Linked DNA regions of Homo sapiens: regions 2, 3, 4 and 5 are each linked to region 1. The links are contacts of gene promoters, found by promoter capture Hi-C in human tissues and cell types (Jung and others, 2019). All regions are on one chromosome and are shown on one strand. Each heading gives the region's core, a stretch centred on a gene start or on the middle of the fragment in contact. The rest is flanking DNA. Distances are from core to core; before and after follow the strand shown. Region 1 holds the start of ZNF737 (zinc finger protein 737). Region 2 overlaps LINC00664 (long intergenic non-protein coding RNA 664). Region 3 holds the start of ZNF493 (zinc finger protein 493). Region 4 holds the start of ZNF738 (zinc finger protein 738). Region 5 has its middle 14 kb from the start of ZNF431.

Evidence for each region. Contacts are between HindIII fragments. The study calls those that stand out against the background at their distance.
Region 2: a fragment that was not itself captured here is called in contact with the fragment with the promoter of ZNF737 in region 1 in 1 of the 25 tissues and cell types used here (dorsolateral prefrontal cortex).
Region 3: a contact is called between the fragment with the promoter of ZNF493 here and the fragment with the promoter of ZNF737 in region 1, in 1 of the 25 tissues and cell types used here (spleen).
Region 4: the fragment with the promoter of ZNF738 here is called in contact with the fragment with the promoter of ZNF737 in region 1 in 1 of the 25 tissues and cell types used here (small bowel).
Region 5: a contact is called between a fragment that was not itself captured here and the fragment with the promoter of ZNF737 in region 1, in 1 of the 25 tissues and cell types used here (adrenal gland).

What each region holds. Positions count from the first base shown.
Region 1 is chr19:20,564,471-20,567,181 of GRCh38, reverse strand. ZNF737 (zinc finger protein 737) reads left to right here and starts at 1,401. Exons shown (of 4, transcript NM_001159293.2): 1 at 1,401-1,544. The coding sequence starts at 1,542. All of the region lies in intron 2 of LOC105372316 (a long non-coding RNA gene), which reads right to left. RefSeq lists enhancers at 1,549-1,598, 1,809-1,968. The HindIII fragment of the contact is 4,540 bases long and covers 1-2,711 here.
Region 2 is chr19:21,498,624-21,501,334 of GRCh38, reverse strand. LINC00664 (long intergenic non-protein coding RNA 664) reads right to left here. Exons shown (of 11, transcript NR_037194.1): 11 at 1-64. Among named protein-coding and RNA genes, the nearest start is that of ZNF429, 5.6 kb to the left of the region's middle. The HindIII fragment of the contact is 3,356 bases long and covers 1-2,711 here.
Region 3 is chr19:21,395,772-21,398,482 of GRCh38, reverse strand. ZNF493 (zinc finger protein 493) reads right to left here and starts at 1,350. Exons shown (of 4, transcript NM_001076678.3): 1 at 1,216-1,350. The coding sequence starts at 1,245. RefSeq lists a silencer at 1,073-1,311. The HindIII fragment of the contact is 12,821 bases long and covers 1-2,711 here.
Region 4 is chr19:21,357,647-21,360,357 of GRCh38, reverse strand. ZNF738 (zinc finger protein 738) reads right to left here and starts at 1,358. Exons shown (of 5, transcript NM_001355237.2): 1 at 1,215-1,358. The coding sequence starts at 1,217. RefSeq lists enhancers at 997-1,296, 2,088-2,645. The HindIII fragment of the contact is 7,981 bases long and covers 1-2,711 here.
Region 5 is chr19:21,126,902-21,129,612 of GRCh38, reverse strand. No RefSeq gene overlaps it. Among named protein-coding and RNA genes, the nearest start is that of ZNF431, 14 kb to the left of the region's middle. RefSeq lists a cis regulatory region at 464-795. The HindIII fragment of the contact is 5,563 bases long and covers 1-2,711 here.

The sequences.
Region 1 (2,711 bases), core at 152-2,651:
GCAAATAAATATAATAAGCAGATTGATGTAATAAGCCAATCTTAATAAGACGAGGAAATGGGAAAAGATATATATATATATATATATATATATATATATATATTTTCCCTCACCAGACTATGGGGGATTCACCACCAGAGAGGGAGGCAACAGCCACAGCTCTAGAGTCAGCCACCCGTCCATCGTACACAGACAAGGAGAGGTCTTATGAAGCTTCAGGGCGGTCTGGGACCTTAGCTCTTTTGTAACGAGTTGTTTGGCATAAGGCCCAGTGATGAGAGCCCTTCACGACTTGCCTCAAGGAACACAAAAAGGTCAACCTTTTTTTGTGATTGTCTATTGTTTTTCAACAACTAATATATAGGAATAGATTGAAATAGAGATTTCTTCAATACAGCGCTGGATGAACACCTCAGGGGCTCACACAACCTGTTCTGGGACTTGGTGACAATTGTTTGTGTCCACATTCAATTGAGTTCAGATTTAATATGTGACTTTTCCTCCACAAATTCCCCTGTCTTGATGAATCGGCTCTGTCTAGGCAAAGGGTAAAATAAACCCCTTGGGCTGTTACACAACCTCCGCCTCCTGGCTTCAAGTGATTCTCCTGCCTCAGCCTCCGGTGTAGCTGGGACTACAGATGTGCACCCCCACACCCAGGTAACTTTTTATATTATTAGTTATTATTATTATTTATTAGTTATTATTAGAGATGGGGTTTCACCATGTTGGCTAGGCTTGTCTTGAACTCCTGACCTCAAGTGATCTGCTCACCTTGGCCTCCCAAAGTGTTGGAATTACCAGCGTGAACTATCCGTGCCTGCCTCTAAATGATTTCTATCTCCTATAGCTGTTGGAAATTAAAGATTGTTTCAAATTGAAAAAATAAAAAGAATGTGGACAAAAATAAAATATAAATAGTTTTTTAAAATTACGAGATATTACAAAATATATATGTAAATCTGGAGTGCTCAAAAATGACAAATTTGATTTATTTATAAGGTTTTATTAAAATTAGCTTTAATAGATTTTACCATTACCAAAGTAAAAGTTGATTTTCTGTTGAACAAAAATTTTATGTATTATTAATGACAGCAAAATACTTCTGTTCACCTTTTTAATACATTCAACAAGAAAGAGAGTAAACAAGAGATAAAATATTCCCATGCTCTGGGGTGGGCCTGGCTCAGCTCAGGGAGGAAGCACTGTTTGAAAAGCCAGCTGCTTAGGCTGGCACTCTTTGTTCACTTAACCCAGCATCTGATCATATCTTCTGTCACTCAGGGCCTGAGGGGGCGGGGATTTAAGCATTATCCAATCAGGGACGCTGGGCTGGAAGCCGTCCAATCAGGCACGCAGCCAGAGTGAAGCGGAAGGCTTCCGGGTTTTGCGGGGCCTTTGTCTCTGCAGCCGGAGCTCCAGGTCTTGTCTTCACTGCTGTGTGTCCTCTGCTCCTAGAGGCCCAGCCTCTGTGGCCCTGTGTCCTGCAGGTATTGGGAGATCCACAGCTAAGACGCCCGGGAGCCCCTGGAAGCCTAGAAATGGTGAGAGTGCCGGTCCGACATCCCGAGAGAGGGGGATAGGCTGGTTGGAACCGGTGGGAAGTGGCTGTGGCGGGACTCAGGCCTCTGCGCAGTCAGCTCCACAATCTGCACCCTGAGTTCTCCTTGCCCAGCTCGGCCTCAGTCCCGTTCAGCCATAATTTGGCGGCTACGCTGACAGCCGGGCCCCCTGGCGTCCTGTGTCTTCCCTGCGTAGTGACTGCTCTGGCCTGGAGCGCTCCGTGGGCAGCTCTGCAACCGCAGCCTCCCGTCTCTCCCAGAATGTGCAGGGACCACCAGAGGGTCGTCAGGGGAGAATCCTGACTCGGGGTGCAGGTTCATGAATGGGAAGAGCTTTGGTCCGTGGAGTTCACAGTTTCTGTTTTCTGCTATTCAAAATTTATGGGGCCGGGCGCAGTCGTTCACGCCTGTAATCCCAGCACTTTGGGAGGCCGAGGCAGGCGGATAACTTGAGGTCAGGACTTCAAGATAAGCCTGGCCCAAATGGGGAAACCCCATGTCTACTAAAAATGCAAAAATTAGCTGGGTGTGATGACAGATGTCTGTAATCACAGCTTCTCGGGAGGCAGAAGTGAGAGAATCGCTTGAACTCCGGAGGTGGATGTTGCAGTGAGCTGAGATCTTGCCACTGCACTCCAGCCTGCGCGACAGTGAGACTCCGTCTCAAAAAAAAAAAAAAAATTCCTGGTTATGTAATTACAGTTTAATTGGCAGTTTATAGTTGCTTAAGCCTGAATTTTGTTTCCCCTAATGTAGTAATTTCCCAAAAAATGCACATGAGCTTAGATTTTTTTTTTTTTGAGGTAGAAATCCAGGGACTAGAGCTTCTTCAGTCTAATTGCCTGCCACTTAATTATTTTCACACGCCACAGCGGACTGATTTTCCCTGGCATTTTCCACATGTGTCTCAAGCAAGGCCTCAAGTGTACCCCATGTTCCTCAATTTATTATTTTTATTTTTTTTTTTTTGAGACGGAGTCTCGCTCTGTCGCCAGAGCTGGAGTGCAGTGTCAGATCTCGGCTCACTGCAACCTCCGCCTCTCAGGTTCAAGCATTCTTCTGCTTCAGCCTCTGGAGTAGTTGGGGCTATGGGCACGCGACACCACGCCCAGCTAATTTTTGTATTTTTAGTAGAGATGGAGTTTCAGT
Region 2 (2,711 bases), core at 134-2,633, 930 kb before region 1:
TAATGACTATTTTATAAGGGCCAACATACTTTTTCCACTCTAAGTGAATCTGATTGTCATCAATCTGCAATTACAAAAGCAATCCAGTCAATTTAGTTAGCTTTGCTCAATACTATTGTACCTGTAATACTGTGGCAGGCCAGACCTCACTAACAACTGTTTCAGTACTGACTGAGTGGTTAAGTTAAATATTAAAAGCCAGTGACCAGCCGGGCGCAGTGGCTCACACCTATAATCCCAGCACCTTGGGAGGCCGAGGCAGGCGGATCACAAGGTCAAGAGATCGATACCATCCTGGCCAACATGGTGAAACCCCGTCTCTACTAAAAATACAAAAAAATTAGCTGGGCGTGGTGGCATGTGCCTGTAGTCCCAACTATTTGGGAGGCTGAGGCAGAAGGATGGCTTGAACCCTGGAGGCGGAGTTTGCAGTGAGCTGAGATTGTACAGCTGCACTCCAGCCTGGTGACAGAGTGAGACCCCGTCTCAATTAAAAAAAAAAAAAAAGCCAGTGACCTTATACAAAGGCTGGGATGTAACAAAAGCCCATCAAGAGTTTCGCCTAGGCCTTTCTTGGGCCTTATAGGATTAAACAAGTTTTATTGGGGGTCTGAAGAAATTCCCCAGGCCTCTACAAACAGGTTTATTGGAGGTCTGAAGGAATTCACCAAACCACTGTGATTTAGCAGGAGACAAGATAAGGGTAATTACCCCAGCACCTGGACCCATTTAGATTAAGTAAATTTACTGAGGCTGCAGGGGAAGGTCTTCAAGACTCAGACCTTAGTTACAGATTAAATAAAAGAAGTTAATCACTTATCTCTTTAGATGAATGCACACTTACATGTAGACATATAGCTTAGAAGGTATATAGGCTCTGGAAAACGTTGTAATTTTGAGTTGGTCTGGTGATAATTTCCAGGCCTTCTCCCTGTAACTGGTTGCAGAAATAAAACTCTCTTCCTCCCCAGTTCATCTGCATCTCGTTATTGGGCCATGAGAAATAGCAGCCCAACTCTCAGTTTGGTCCAGGAACAATACCTTATTTAACAGTTTTACAACTTGTCTAGTGAAATAAGTATCTTGATCATTAGAGACCTTTCAGAAATGTCCCATGAAAAAAAAACATATTTTCTAATATTCTTTTAGCTACTATTATAACATCAGCCTTCTTGCATGAGAAAGCTTTTATACTATCAGAAAACATGCATTAAAAATGACAACTGTATAAAATTTCTGTATAAATGCTTAAATAGCCTATTAGGTAACAGAAATGTACATAAAGTATTGATTGTTTCTCAGAATTATATGTTTGACATAAAAAAATTGGCCTTAATCTGTTTAGTAATTTAGAATAATCACCACACACACACACACACACACACACACACACACACACACACACAAACTTAATTCATATTTAATTTAGATTATTTTCTGTGATGAGTAATGGAATGCAGAGCTTTTAATAATGGAAGCTTTAAGAAATCAAGAATAAACAAATGGCTTGGTGGCTGTCTAGATTCTTTATGAGTCCACACTTAACATTAAATTTATGTCCTTTTTTTTTTTTTGAGACAGAATCTCCCTCTGTCACCCAGGCTGGAGTGCAATGGTGAGATCTCGGCTCACTGCAAACTCTGCCTCCTGGGTTCAAGCAATTCTCTGCCTCAGCCTCCCGAGTAGCTGGGATTACAGGCACCTGCCAACACACGTGGCTAATTTTTGTATTTTTAGTAGAGACAGGGTTTCACCATCTTGGCCAGGCTGGTCTTGAACTCCTGACCTTGCGATCCACCCTCCTCGGCCTCCCAAAGTGTTGGGATTACAGGCGTGAGCCAGCATGCCCGGCCGCTTATTTTTTCTTATTTTTTGAGACAGAGTCTCGCTCTGTCACCCAGGGTGGAATGCAGTGGCATGATCTTGGCTCACTGCAACCTCCACCTCTCGGGTTCAAGCAATTCTCCTGCCTCAGCCTCTGAAGTAGCTGGGATTACAGGCACCCGCCACCATGGTCAGCTGATTTTTGTATTTTTAGTAGAGACAGGGTTTTGCCATGTTGGTCAGGCTTGTCCCAAATTCCTGACCTCAGGTGATCCACTCCCCTCGGCCTCCCAAAGTGCTGGGATTACAGGCATGGCCACCGCACCCCACCTAGTGTATCTGTTTAGACAGAATAAAACAAGGTATCTATTCATAAGTAACAAATATAGGTTAATAGAAAACTCAAACACAAATATAACTAATGCTATATCTTTCAGAATAGCCCATTCTAATTATTTCATTTCTCATTTGCTAAAATTCAAATCAACTTTTTTCATAATTTTACAGTGTATCTTAATGTCAGAGGCATTTAAACCAGAGTGACTCTATTTTGAATAGTGGCTGGGCAAATTGAGGTTGAGACCTACAGGGCTGCATTCCCCGGCAGTTAGGCATTCTTGGTCACAGGCTGAGATAGAAGGTTAGCACAAGATACAATGCACTTAGCAATTTGTCACAATCTTCTCTGTTAGCAGGGTACAGGCAGAAAAGAAGGGTCACATATTTAGGTCATGTGTCATAGGCGGTCATAGCAGAGATATGTCATTTGTGGGAATGGTCAAGAAAGGAGCTCCCCAACTGCTAGGTGTTGAGCCCAGCTATACATCACAATACCCAAAATATGTGAGGCCCAGAAAAAAAGGAGAGCCACATCACCTAGGTGCTGG
Region 3 (2,711 bases), core at 101-2,600, 830 kb before region 1:
GAGGACACATCACCCCATAGATTTTCCAAAGGAGAACTTCGACCCAAAAACATTCTGGTAACATCTCTGTGCCTAGACAAGATGAAAGCAAAAGAGACAGAGATTTACTACAATGCAGTGTCAGGGTATTATTATTTGCCTTCTTTTCATGGGAAATATTTACAAACAGATAACAAATCTCTTTAAATGCACCATTTAACCATTTAATGCTTTGCCAAAAAAATAATTAAAATATGGTATAAAAAAGTACAGTAAAAGACAAATAGGCGATAATGTGAATTAGGGAGGAAAAGGTGGCATTTAGGAACGTCAGAGGAAACTGGAAATTATCTTACTGCAAGCCAGAGTGAGGCCGGAGAAATGGGGGATTGGTTCCAAGACTCTGCTTGGGACACAGGTGAAAAATACAGCAGAAAATCAGTTCCCTGTGGAGTGTGAAAATAATTAAGTGGCAGGCAATTAGACTGAGGTATTTCTAGTCCCTGAATTCTTACTTTAAAAAAAAAATCTAACTCAGGTGCATTATTTTTAATTACTACATTCAGAGAAACAAAATTCAGGCTTCAGCAACTGTAAACTGCCAATTAAGCTCTGATTACATAACCAGGAAATTTTCACCTTTAACGCACATATTAAGAAACCATGTAACTGTACCTAACCAATTAGTAAATTTGGTTTCTTCATCATGCATTTTATAAAAGACTTTCCTTCAAGCCTCTCCCACAGACCACAAACTACAAACCATAGCTGGGTGCTCTACAATTCTAGAACCACTCTTTGATTACATTCTTTAATATTTTTGCAGTGACGCCCATAAATTTTTAATAGGAGAAAATAGCAACTGGGAACCCCACGGACCAAAGCTCTTCCCATTCATGAACCCGCACCCCAAGTCAGGATTCTCCCCTGATGACCCTCCCGTGGTCCCCGCACAATCTGAGAAAGACGCGGCGCTGCGGGTGCAGAACTGCCAGAGAGGACTCCAGGCAGGGCACAGTCACAGTGCAGGGAAGAGACAGGACGCCCGGGGCCCCGGCTGTTGGCGCAGCCGCCAACTTACGGCTGAAGGAGACTGAGGCCGAGCTGGGCAAGGAGAACTCAGGGAGCAGATTGTGGAGCTGACTGCGGGGAGGCCTGAGTCCCGCCACAGCCACTTCCCACCGGTTCCGAGCAACTCCTTCCCCTCTCTCGTGATGTCGGACCCAGCACTCTCACCATGTCTAGGCTTTCAGGGGGTCCTGGCATCTTAGCTATGGATTTCCCAGTATCTTCAGGTCACGAAGCCACACACGCTGAGGACACAGAGCAGTGAAGGGTAGACCTGGAGCTCCGGCAGCAGAGAGAAACAATGGCCCAGCCACATCCCGGAAGCCGTCCTCGCCGCTCCAAATGTGTGCCTAATTGGACGGTTCCCAGTTCTGCGTGTCTGATTGGATACGGTTTAAGGGCCCGCCCCTTCAGGCCCTGAGTGACAGAAGATATGACCAAATGCTGGGCGGAGTGAAGAAAGAGTGATAGCCTAGGCTGCAGCCTTTTCAGGCAGGGCTTCCTCCCTGAGCTGAGCCAGGCACACCTTAGAGGGTATTTTCCCTTAACCTTGTGTATAAGGTCATAAGCACTTATAAATAATATATGGCTATTCACAAATTTAAAAAAATAATTATTTTAAAATTTCAGCTTTTATGACCTTCCTGGCTCCTAGTCCTTTGAACTAGCAGCCTGAGATTTTTAAAAGGAGCCAATCTTATGAAATAAGATGTGAGCCACATGTGAATTTTAAATTTTCTAGTAGCCAGACTTTAAAAATAAAGAAGGGCCGGGCGCAGTGGCTCACGCCTGTAATCCCAGCACTTTGGGAGGCCGAGGCGGGTGGATCGCCTGAGGTCAGGAGTTTGAGACCAGCCTGGCCAACATGATGAAACCCCGTCCCTACTAAAAATAAGAAAAAATAACCAGGCGTGGTGGTGGGCGCCTGTTATCCCAGCTACTCGGGAGGCTGAGGCAAAATAATCGCTTGAACCCGGGAGGTGGAGGGAGGCAGAGGTTGCAGTGAGCCGAGATCGCCCCACTGCACACTCCAGCCTGGTCAACAAGAGTGAAACTCCATCTCAAGAAAAAAAAAGAAGAGAGAAAGAGAGAGAGAGAAAGAAAGAGTGAAAGAGAGAGAGAGAGAAGGAAAGAGGGAAGGAAGGAAAAGGAAGGAAGGAAAAAGAAGAAAGAAAAGTGAAGAGAAGAGAAGAAAGAAAATAAAAGTGAAAGAAAAGAAAGCCGGGTGTAGTGTCCCATGCCTGTTATCTCAGCACTTGGGGAGGCCGAGGCAGGCGGATCACCCGAGGTCAGGAGTGCAAGACCAGCCTAGCCAACATGGTGAAACCCCGTCTCTACAAAAATACAAAAATTATCTGGGTATGATGGCAGGTGCCTGTAATCCCAGCTAATAGAGAGGCTGAGGCAGGAGAATCACTTAAACCCAGGAGGCAGAGGTTGAGGTGAGCCAAGATCACGCCATTGCACTCCAGTCTGGGAAACAGAGCAAGACTCCATCTCAAAAATAAAAAAATTTTAAAAAGAAGGAGAAGAAACAGGTGAAATTCATTGTAACAATTTAATTAACCCAATATATCCAAAATATTATCATTGTAATATGTGAGCAATATGTAAAGATTAATGAAGTATATATATATTTGGAACTGTATCTTTGAAACTAACTC
Region 4 (2,711 bases), core at 109-2,608, 790 kb before region 1:
GCAAGAATGAGGTTGGAGTAATGAGGGATGGGGGTTAGACTTAAGACCCTGATTGGGACCCAGGTGAAAAATGCAGCAGAAAATCAGTTCCCTGTGGAGTGTGAAAATAATTAAGTGGCAGGCAATTAGACTGAGGTTTCTCTAGTCCCTGGGTTCCTACTTCAATTTAAAAAATCTAACTCAGGCGCATTATTTTTAATTACTAAATTCAGAGAAACAAAATTGAGGCTTCACCTACTATAAACTGCCAATTGAGCTCCGATTACATAACCAGGAAATTTTCACCTTTAATGTACAAATTAAAAAACCACGTAACTGTACCTAACCAATTACTAAATTTGGTTTTCTTCATCATGCATTTTACAAAAGACTTTCTTTCAAGCCTCTCCCATAGACCACAAACTAAAAACCACAGCTTGGTGCTCTACAATTCTAGAACCACTTTTTGATTAAATTATTTAATAAGTTAATTTTTTTTTTGAGACAAGAGTCTCGCTCTGTCGCCCAGGCTGGAGTGCAGTGGCACGATCTCGGCTCACTGCAAGCTCTGCCTCCTGGGTTCACGCCATTCTCCTGCCTCAGCCTCCTGAGTAGCTGGGACTACAGGCGCCCGCCACCACGCCCGGCTCATTTTTTGTATTTTTAGTAGAGACGGGGTTTCACCGTGTTAGCCAGGATGGTCTTGATCTCCTGACCTCTGATCCGCCCACCTCGGCCTTCCAAAGTGCTGGGATTACAGGCGTGAGCCACCGCGCCCAGCCTAGAACCACTCTTTGATTAAATTCTTTTAATATTTTTGCAGTGACTCCCATTAACTTTTAATAGGAGATAATAGGAACTGGGAACCCCACGGAACAAACCTCTTCCCATTCATGAACCCGCACCCCAAGTCAGGATTCTCCCCTGACGACCCTCCCACGGTCCCTGCACAATCCGGTAGAGAAGCGGCGCTGCGGGTGCAGAGATTCCCCAGAGAGGGCTCCAGGCAAGGGCACAGTCACTATGCAGGGAAGAGACAGGACGCCCGGGGGCCGGGCTGTCGGCGCAACCGCCATCTTATGGCTGAAGGCGACTGAGGCCGAGCTGGGCAAGGAGAACTCGGGGCGCAGATTGTAGAGCTGACTGCGGGGAGGCCTGAGTCTCGCCACAGCCACTTCCCACCGGTTCCAACCAGCCCTTCCCCTCTCTCGGGATGTTGGACCCCGCACTCTCACCATTTCTAGGCTTCCAGGGTGTCCCGGCGTCTTAGCTGTGGATTCCCAATACCTGCAGGTCACAGGACCAGAGGCTGGGCCTCTAGGAGCAGAGGACACAGAGCAGTGAAGACGAGACCCGGAGTTCCAGCGGCAGCCAAAGACAAAGAAGCGGACAAATCCCGCCACATCCCGGAAGCCGTCCTCTCCGCTCAAGCTGCGTGCCTGATTGGACAGTTCCCAGCCCAGCGTCGCTGATTGGATAACGTTTAAAACCCCACCCTCTCAGGCCCTGACTGACAGAAGATGTAATTAGATGCTGGGCTGAATGAAGAAAGAGTGACCGCCTAGGCTGCAGCCTTTTCAGGCAGGGCTTCCTCCTTGAGCTGAGATAGGCCCACCCCAAAGGGTATTTGCATTCAACCTTGCGTATAAGGTCATATGCATTTGTAAATACTATATCATATGGCTATACATAAATGAAAAGGATATAATAACAAATGTTTTAAAATTTCAGGGTTTTTTTACTTTCCTGGCTTACGGTCCTTTGAGCAGGCAGCCTGAGATTTTAAAAAGGAGGTAATCCTCTGAAATAAAATGTGAGCCACGTGAATTTTGAATTTTCTGGTAGCCAAACTAGAAAATTAAAAAGAAACAAGGGGCCAGGCATGGTGGCTCACGCCTGTAATCCTAGGACTTTAGGAGTACAAGGCGGGCAGATCAAGAGGTCAGGAGTTTGAGACCAGCCTGGCTAACATGGTGAAACCACGTCTCTACTAAAAATACAAAAATTAGCCGGGCGTGGTGGTGGACATCTGTAATCCCAGCTACGCAGGAGGCTGAGGCAGGAGAATTGCTTGAACCCGGGAGGCGGAGGAGGTTGCAGTGAGCAGAGATCGCGCCACTGCACTCCAGCCTGGGCGGACAGAGCGAGACTCCGTTTTGGGGGGTGAAAAATATAAAGAAACAAGAGGCCACGCGCAGTGGCTCACGCCTGTAATCCCAGCACTTTGGGAGGCCGAGGCTGGTGGATCACGAGATCAAGTGATTGAGACCCTCCTGGCAATATGGCTAAACCCTGTCTCTACTGAAAAAAATATAAAAATTAGCCAGGCGTGGTGGCGCATGCCTGTAATCCCAGCTACTGGGGAGGCTGAGGCAGGAGAATCGCTTGAACCCGGGAGGCAGAGGTTGCAGTGAGCCGAGATTGCGCCACTGCACTCCAGCCTAGTGACAGACTGCAACAACAGCAACAACAACAACAACAATAACAAGGAACAGGTTGAATTGATTGTAACAATGTAATTAACCTAATATATACAAAATATCATTTTAATGTGTGAGGAATATGTAATTATTAATGAAGTATATAAATATTTGCAACTAAATTTTTGAAAATAACTCTGTGTTTTACCTTTCTAGCATATCGCGGTTCAGACCAAGCACATTCCAGGCACCCAGGAGCCACACATGGCAGCTCTGATGTCAATGGTGTGAAGGGCCAGAGGGGAAGGAAGG
Region 5 (2,711 bases), core at 127-2,626, 560 kb before region 1:
TATGTCCAGATGGCCTGCAGGAGCCAAGAAGTCTGGAGCAGCCAAAAAATCACAAAGAAGTGGAACAGCCAGTTCCTGCCTTAACTAGTTAACCCACCTTATGACATTCTACCATTATGACTTGTTCCCGATAAAGCTGCCCCGCTCCTATCTCCCTTTGCTGACTCTCTTTCTGGACTTAGCCCACTTGCACCCAAGTGAATAAACAGGCTTGTTGCTCACACAAATCCTGTTTGGTGGTCTCTTCACCTGGATGCGCTTGACATTTTGTAAAATGCATAATGAAGAAAACCAAATTTAGTAATTGGTTAGGTACAATTACGTGGTTTCTTAATTTGTACTGTTGTGGGAAAGTAAGGAACTGGAGAGACGAAATGGAGTGAAGGAAAGTGTTTATTTAAGGTGTACACTGGCACAGCGGACACATGTCCTGAAACTCTGAGCCCAGAGCAAAGAAAATGAGTCCCCTTTAAGCATTTTGAGGTGGGCACTGTGTGAAGCAGGAAGCAGGCTTACAGAAATGAGAACAAAGGCTGCTGTGACACTTTTGCAACATGTCTTACATCTCTGGGAAAACTTAGTTTGCAGCTTATGCTTATCTGTCTTGTGACCTTGCAGCTGTGCAAGGAAGAAAGAAACAAGAGTTTACAGAGCCTACAAAATATGTGGAAGGTAGATATGGTTAATGTTTCCTGGGACAGACAGTTAATATTCTCTTCTAACTTCAGGGGGGCTACTTAAATTCTTGTTAGCCTTGGTTAATACAGCAATTCATTCTATGAGCTATTGTTATTTCTCTATTACTATAATCTTTACTATTATTACTTATGCTATTATTCTGTTATTTTCTTAAGTTCCTACTTCAATAGATTAAAGGTGAAAATTTCCTGGTTATGTAATCAGAGCTTAATGGGCAGTTTATAGTTGGTGAAGCCTGAATTTTGTTTCTCTGAATGTAGTAATTAAAAATAATGCACCTGAGTTAGTTTTTTTTAAAGTATGAACCCAGGGACTAGAGACACCTCAGTCTAATTGCCTGCCACTTAATTATTTTCACACAGCACGGGGAACTGATTTTCTGCTGCATTTTTCACCTGTGTCCCAAGCAGGGTTTTTAAGTCTAAACTCCCATGCCCCATATCTCCAGCCTCACTGTGGCTTGCAGTAAGATACTAAATTTCCAGGTTCTTCTGGCATTCCTAAATGCCAACTTTTCCTTCCTAATTCACATTATCACTTCTTTGTCTTTTAGTGTACTTTTTTTATATCATATTTTAATTAATTATTTTTTGGTAAAACATTAAATGGTGCTTTTAAGAAGTTGTATTAACTGTTTGTAAATATTTCCCATGAGGAGAAAGCAAATAATAATCCCCCGATGTTGTATTGTAGAAAATCTCTGTGTCTCTTTTCGTTTTATCTTCTCTAGGCACAGAGATCTTATCAGAATGTTTTTGGGTCAAAGTTCTGCTTTGGAAAATTTATGGGGTGATGTGTCCTCAGCCACCCTTTAGTTTTTTGCTGGTCCTGGGCTTAGTACTATCTGGGGATAAACCGAGATATCTGCCATGCTTATGTCAGCTTGAATGTCCGGTGGATATCAGCTTCTGGTTTATTTTCTCCCTTAGGATGACCTGAAGTATGGAGTGTATCCTTTCTAGGGAGCAAGTGGATACCCTGGGGCTAAGAGGAATCTTCTGGTGTACTCTAACTTTGAAAAGCTGTTAAAATTGCCTTCACCTAACCCAGCTTTCATTTCTTGGAGACAAATTGCTGGTCAGCCAATCAGATGCTGATAATGAGGGGAAAACACAGACATAATTTCTACCCCCTGGATAGAAATTATGTAAGGGGGCAGAAGAATAGTGAAATAAATATAGTAAAAGAAAAAGAGTAAAAAAATTGGGCCAGATGCGGTGGCTCATGCCTGTAATCCCAGCACTTCGGGAGGCCAAGGCAGGCAGAGCACGAGGTCAGGAGATTGAGACCATCCTGGCTAACACAGTGAAACCCAGTCTCTACTAAAAATACAAAAAATTAGCCAGGTGTGGTGGTGGGCACCTGCAGTCCCAGCTACTCAGGAGGCTGAGGCAGGAGAATGGTGTGAATCTGGGAGGCAGAGCTTGCAGTGAGCCAAGATCACGCCACTGCACTCCAGCCTGGGCAACAGAGTGAGATCCGTTTCAAAGAAAGAAAAAAAAAAAGTGAAAAATTTGTGACCAAAAAAATAGTATTGGAACAGAAATTAAAAGAAATTAAAGAATGTGTAAGCAGAAACTCAGTTGTATGTAAGAAAACCCAATTCCTCCTGAGAAAGAGAAAGAGCTGGAGTCCTTTAAAAATTAACGGCCTGTTTTTCTGTGGCTAGCAAGGCTTATCTCTCCTCCTTTCCCAGGCATTTTGAAGACCCTGTTTCTCTAGCTGTGCAGCTGCAAGGTCACTAGATAGATAAACTCAAGTTGTAAAACATGTTTTTCCTTGGAAAGTAAAAAATTATGTAATGCATGTCACAATTAATTGAATAACTGTCTTTGTTTCTCGCTTCTGTAATATGCTTCTCCCTGCACAGATCTCCCCCTGCCATCCCACAAAATGCTTAAAGGGTAACTTAACTCTTTGTTCAGGGCTCAGTCCTTTGGATGTTAATCCGACTAGGCCAGTGCACCTAAATAATAAATATCCTCCTCAACCCCATCAGTCTCTCTGATTTC